Regions from separate parts of the Homo sapiens genome. Here region 2 is linked to region 1. Evidence: promoter capture Hi-C in 16 types of primary human blood cells and fetal thymus (Javierre and others, 2016). All regions are on one chromosome and are shown on one strand. The core of a region is centred on a gene start or on the middle of the fragment in contact, and the rest is flanking DNA. Distances in the headings are between cores, read along the strand shown.

Evidence for each region. Contacts are between HindIII fragments. The CHiCAGO score rates a contact against its expected background, and 5 or more counts as called.
Region 2: a fragment that was not itself captured here is called in contact with the fragment with the promoter of SPRY4 in region 1 in 1 of 17 cell types (endothelial precursors); the score reaches 5.0 in endothelial precursors.

The regions. Positions count from the first base shown.
Region 1 is chr5:142,323,358-142,326,455 of GRCh38, forward strand. It overlaps SPRY4 (sprouty RTK signaling antagonist 4), which reads right to left and starts at 1,664. Exons shown (of 2, transcript NM_001127496.3): 1 at 1,487-1,664. It overlaps SPRY4-AS1 (SPRY4 antisense RNA 1), which reads left to right and starts at 1,936. Exons shown (of 4, transcript NR_120664.1): 1 at 1,936-2,013. RefSeq lists enhancers at 1-626, 627-1,589, 1,071-1,130. The HindIII fragment of the contact is 6,861 bases long and covers 1-3,098 here.
Region 2 is chr5:142,202,591-142,205,688 of GRCh38, forward strand. No RefSeq gene overlaps it. Among named protein-coding and RNA genes, the nearest start is that of NDFIP1, 95 kb to the left of the region's middle. The HindIII fragment of the contact is 412 bases long and covers 1,230-1,641 here.

The sequences.
Region 1 (3,098 bases), core at 414-2,913:
GAATCACGCCACTGATTTGGAGGCAGGAAAGAAGGGGATGCCACTAGGTTTGGGCACCCCACTGTACACTCTTCTTTCCAGCACTAACCGCGCTGGGGGGTACGGAAGCCTTGCTGCGCCAGAAGGCGGCCTCCTGCCCTCACAGAGGCCTTGGCAATATGGATGCCCCTCCAGCAGCTGGTGAAAGAGGCAGCCAGCAGCTCCCTACTCTGCCTACCATCTAGCCCCTCCAGCCCATTTCGCCTCTCTTGCCCATCCTTCAGCCCTATAAGCCACGCAACCATTTTCTGTCTCCCCTGCCTCTCCTGCCCACAACCCCCTGCCCCCAATCAAGGAGAATTGAGAAACCGTCTTCTTGCACAAGAGCAGCTACTGTCTAAATGCTTTTTGATCGTCTGCATGGAGGGGGAACTGGGCACAGCCCTGGACCCAGTGATGGAGCCAAGCTCTAGCTGCCCTGGCTAGCCAAACCCGCCCTCACCCAGCTCACTGTCCCCGGGGTCTTGGCGATTCAGAATTTGTCAGAACATACCGTCTCTATCCTCTTCTCTGTGATGTCAAGCCTGGTACCACCAAGAAGGAAGGAGGGAAAGCAGGAGCCTTATCTCTCCTACATTCGCAACCTCTTCCTCCAGCTCCCACACGCCTGGTGTTATGTAAACGCACCTTCAACCCCCACCGCAGCCCTAGCGCGGCCTGGGGGCTCCGGGGCCTGGCACAGCTCGGTGCCCGAGGATAGGGAGGTACAGGGTGGCCGAGGAGCCTCAGGCCTTACAGAGGCCAGGCAAGAAAAAGTCAACTGCAAGGCAGTTGCATAGCATAAAATGCGGCAGCGGAGCAAAGGTCAGACGGCGAGGAACCGCCTCGCCAAGGAGAGGGAGTAGGAATGCCCAGTCCTGAGCCAGCCCCTCGCTGACCATCGAGGGAGAGGCAGAAGGGGAGGGAATTCAGTCCGTCACGGCTCCGAAGAGAAAGAAAAAATCTACGTCGAGCATAGGCCGCTACGGCGGGCTGGGAGATACACGGCAAAGCTGGCACCGTGGGCACCGAGCTGGGAGGTGGGCGAGCCGCCCAGAGCGAGGGCGCCCCCCGACCCAAACGGTGGCTCCTGACCAAGCCCAGAGACGCCCGTTCCAGCGTTCGAGGCGGATGGTGGCAGGAGAAGGAAAGAGGCCAGGCCAGAGGCAAACTCCCGGGACACGCACGGGGCTTCCCGAGTCTCAGAGGGCGGGGAAGCCGGGCTTGGCAATGCCCAGGGGTCGGAAACGGCGGTGCCAGGCTGTGAACACCCCCGGCGCCGTGCCGGCCGGGCCGAGGGCGTCAGGGAGCTGCGGCGCACCGCAGCGACTCAAGGAGGCGCAGGCTGAGGGAAGGAACACTGAGGCGCGCCTAGAAATAGCGCACCATTTGCCCCAGCCCAAGGGGGGAGTCGCGTCGCGGCTCAGAGAGGGGCAGTTTCAGATCTCCAAACCAGCCATGGACTTACTTTGAGGAGCTGCAGGGTCACAAGCATCGCCCCACGTCTGTGTAAATCCTGAAGCCGGGGCAGGTTAGCCGCCGCTGTACTCGCAGACGCCGGTCGGAGGAACCGGCAAGGCTCCCTGCGCTCCACAGCGCCAGCTCCGCGCTGTCAGCTCAGCTCGCTACCTCCGCGGCGATGTTGCAACCACTGCCTGGGAAAATGGCTTTTTTATGAATGGGAGGGAAGGGAGCGCCAGTGCGCACGCGTGCCGTTCGCGATTCTATGAATGGGTGGGCACAACAGACCCTGAGCGCGCATGCGCTCCGCTCCTTTTTTTATGAATGGGGGGCGGGAAAAGATCTTAACCCGTGATTGCTGGGACTGGCTCAAGCTCCACCAGGAGCCGTCGTTCTTTTACAAAGAGGGGTGGAGGTTCCAGTGGAGGCTGTTGTTGCCTTTTTTTTTTTTTTTTTAATGAATGGAGGGCGGCGGCGACTGCTGCAGCTGGGCCAGCTGCGCGGGCTGCACCCCCTCCCAGCCTGCGAGAGGAGGTAAAGGCCACCTTCACGCCACTGCGGGCCTGGGCAGGAACCGTCAGTGTCGCTGGGGGGTGGGGGACGCTGCGGCCTCCGGATCCCGGGTTGAGAGCAGGGTGGTGGAGGGCACACCTAGATCTGGGGATCTCTGCCCCCCGCAGGCAGTCAAAAGGGGGGGCGGGAGGACCCCTACTGGGGGCCTTCTCTTGCTCTAGACCAGAGACGCCAGGCGGGAGGGGTCTTGAAGCTGCGTTTACCAAAAATTAGGAAAATGTCCATCATTCATATCAAAGGGTGGGGTGAGGATTGGTGAGTGAATCTGGTTCTTTTTCCTGAGGCTGAATCTCTCGTGAGTGCTGGCCGCCCCTCCCCCCATTTCTTGGGTGTAGACAGTGACTGGGCCCAGGCCTCTTCCGGCTCCAGTACCCCCCGGGGCGATTCTGGCAACTCAGCCAGAGGAAGCCTGGCCCTCGCCTCCCAGCGTTCCCCCCGCCCCCCGCCCCAGTGCAATGTCCGCAGTGCCCGGGCGTCTGCCCGCTCTCTGTCGCCCTAGCTAGGTGTCCTTTCTCTGTCCCAGTCGGTTTCCCAGCCCTCACAGGACGCTGGCCTGAGGAGCCTCGGTCCACCGAAGGCCCACGGCCCTTCGCTGTTGTAGGCGCCTTTCCCCAATATCCCCCACCTCTCACCGGCCTCCCCTCCGGGGAAGTGGGAGCGGCCGAGAACTGGCCAGGTGGATGGGTGGAGCCGGCTGCGCCGAGGATGCTGCCGGGGTGGCCTCAGGATTAAATAACAACGGGGCTCTTGAGCCGCAGAGGAAATGGAAATGGCTGGGGATCCTTTCTTCGCTGTTAATGATGGTGGCGTTGGGGGGCGGGGGTGAGGATCAGCTCAAGCCGGTGAAAAGAAAAGCCCCCGCCATTAGGCCTGACTCCAGGAAGGCGGGGAGCCCTCGCAGCAGGCCCTGCTCCTCCCTGGAACGGAGGAGCCTGTAGCCTCCGGGAAGTCCGGGGCGGGGGGTGGCTTTGATGCGTGGATAAGAGCAGAGTCTGGGCCAGGGCTTGGCCCTGAGTCCCTTGTAAGGTCTGTCTTGCCGCTGTTCT
Region 2 (3,098 bases), core at 186-2,685, 120 kb before region 1:
CTGCATCAATGCTCCCTATCTACATTGGTTCCAGGCAGCCTTCCTACAATTTGGACCTACTTCCTAAAATGTAAGATATGCAAACTTTTTGAATCATCAGCTTAATTTTTCTGGAGAACTAATTATAGATATGGTTTAAAAAACAAACAAATATGAACAAGAGTGCTTATTATAGCATGGTTTGTTAGAGGAACAAAGTGGACCTTCCCAAAGGTCTCATATAGGAGAGAGGCTAAATCACATTGCCATTTTCATGGTGGTTAAAAAGAATAAAGAATGAAGTATCATTATGTATTCTCAACAGTTCAATTAGAGCAGTAGAACCACTAGGAGGTACAGTGTGTGTGTGTGTGTGAGAGAGAGAGAGAGAGAGAAAGAGAGAGAGAGACGGAGAGGAAGAGAGAGAGGGAGACAGAGAGAGAGAGAGATGGGGATTTGACTTTAAGCAATCGGGGAGCTGGCTAAACTGTCTTGGGAAGGCTGTTACCTTCTCATCTGACACTGGAGCTTGGCATCCACACGGCAGGAAGAGAAGAGGGATGTAAGTAGGGAAGAGTGAGAACCAGCAGGAGCCCACAAGATCCACAGGAGTCTCTCTCCACCTCCAACTTGTTGGTACAAGTGTCCTGCGGGAGCAGCTGACCTCTTCCTTCATCACAAAGCCAAACACACACCTGGCGCAGGAGATGGAGCTGCTGAAGGAGGACACAGGGCAGGTGGAGCAGCTGCAGCCGTCAAATGAGCAGCAATACAGGATATCCAAATCTCAGCCTAAACGTCTCTTGGTCCCCCCTAACTGGCCATATACAGGGAAGACAGAATCCAGCCTTCCCAAATGGATGCATTCCAATGCCACCACACTGCTAATATGGAAAGATTTCCAAGATATATTTATGTGTAAGAAATGCAAGTTTCAGGGCTGGGTGCGGTGGCTCATGCCTGTAATCCCAGCACTTTGGGAGGCCAAGGCGGGTGGATCACCTGAGGTCAGGAATTCAAGACCAGCCTGGCCAACATGGCGAAACCCTGTCTCTACTAAAAATACAAAAATTAGCCAGGCATGGTGGTGCGCGCCTCTTATCCCAGATACTCGGGAGACTGAGGCATGAGAATCTCTTGGATCTGGGAGACGGAGCTTGCAGTGAGCCAAGATCGTGCCACTGCACTCCAGCCTGGGTGACAAAGTGAGACTCTGTCTCAAAAAAAAAGAAAAAGAAAAAAGAAATGCAAGCTTCAGGCTATTATGGAGAATATGTTTTTATGCTGCCGCAAAAATTATTTTTATCTGTACACATATAGGTAGGTACATACATAGAGACAGATTTGGAAAGATAAACACTGACCATGGTCACCTCCAGAAAGGGACTGGAACTGGGGAAGAGGGTGTCAACGGGACTTTGTGTTTATCTGGATTCAAGTGCAATTGAAGGCAAACATAAAAAGCAAAAAGAAAATCCCCTCTGTGTTAGTGTCTTCTCAAGTCAGGGGTGTTTTACTTCTCTGCGAGGACCCTCATTTTTAGTTCTTTCAAAATGAGCAATGAAGTAGATTTCAAGACACTGTGAGGTGTGTGTAGATGGTCAAAGGGTTGTTCTTGTGGTTTTCTTTCTTCTCCGTTTCAAATTGTTAACAGTACAGCGAAGCTTTACCACATTGCTTTGGCCTTTTGCTCCTGAGAGGTGGGTGAACCCCCAGGGCTCCGCCTGCAGCCAGTTGGGCATTGGGGGAGGGGTGGTGACCCCTCCTGGGCAGAAATCAGCAGAAGTGATGATGTCCAGTTGGAATGCCAGGACCTCCTGCAGGGGTTGAGGAGGCAAGTCCCTCTGCTTTCTCAATAGTGATGCTACGTGCCAGATATTCCTTCTAAGAACTTTGCTAGTGTCATGGACTCCAGCTGGGGCACTACTGGGAGCCTGCCCTCTGTGGATGGCACATGCAGATCTCTGGGGTTTATGCAAGAATAGTCACAACGATTTTTCAAGAGAGAGAAACAAATAGATGATGAGCCTCAAGAGGCTTCCAGCCTGTTAAAAGTGACTCCATGAGGCCCCTCCCCAACCCCACACTGTGTCTCCAGGCCCAGAAGACAGCCTCCCGGATGGGGCTACCCCAAGAGTCCCACCTTTTCCCAGAGCCTCTCATTCTCCCGTCTTCTAGGAAGCCTTCAGGGGCTTTCTCCATTGAGAAGGTCTCTCCCTTCTCTTTTTTCTGTTAAAATCCCAACCATACTTCAAATCTCTCCAGAAGTTTCTCATCAGCCACAAGGATTTTCATTTTCCATCATCACCCAGCTCTCCCTTAAGGCAAGACATGGTACCCAGCCCGGTGCTCTCAGCAGGGAGCTTCTAGCTGTTGTTCCCACAGGGGTTGTCCTGCCTGAGCCCATGGCCTCCCTAGGGGAGCCCAATCTGGGGGCCAGGTGAGATGAGGGCACCAGGGCCTGGCCACTTCAGCCTGGCAAGGGTAACTCTGCTGCAACATTTGCTCCAGAGCTCTGCACTGGGCTGGCCACGCATTTGACAGGTCTGCATTGCAGCTTGGCTTTTCCCTCTGCCTACATCTGTTCCCGTGCACCTCTTTCCTTTCACAGTTATTGATCTCTAGTAAACATCATGCACCCTCAACTCCATATCAGCCTCTGCCTTCTGGAGAACCCAATTTGTGATAGTTGGTACAAGGAATGGTCCCAGAAAGCAGTTGACAGGTGGGTTTTGGAACTGGACCAGTTATCACGGGGCCAGCATTAAGAGGGGTGAGGCACAGCAGCCCCTGGGTCAGGGCAGTGGCCCAACTATGGATTCCCCTGGTGAGGAAGGAGGGGGAAACGCACTAGTAGGTGTTATGCATGAGGTATTTGAGAGGTCTGGCGTTCACAGTTGCTTTAAGGATAGGGTATGGGATAGAAAGTTGATGTCCTTCAGAAAAAGAACAGACAGCTGAGGGCCATAACAGGCAACTGAAAGGCAGTTGTGAAGCCAGAGGGCCTTTTTGTTTGCATACAAAGAAATTCTAACCTCCTACAGCACAGGGCAGGATGAAATGCCCATTGAAGCAGTTTCATTATACCAAGGTTAAGGCCCTGGTGGGTAAAACCTGGC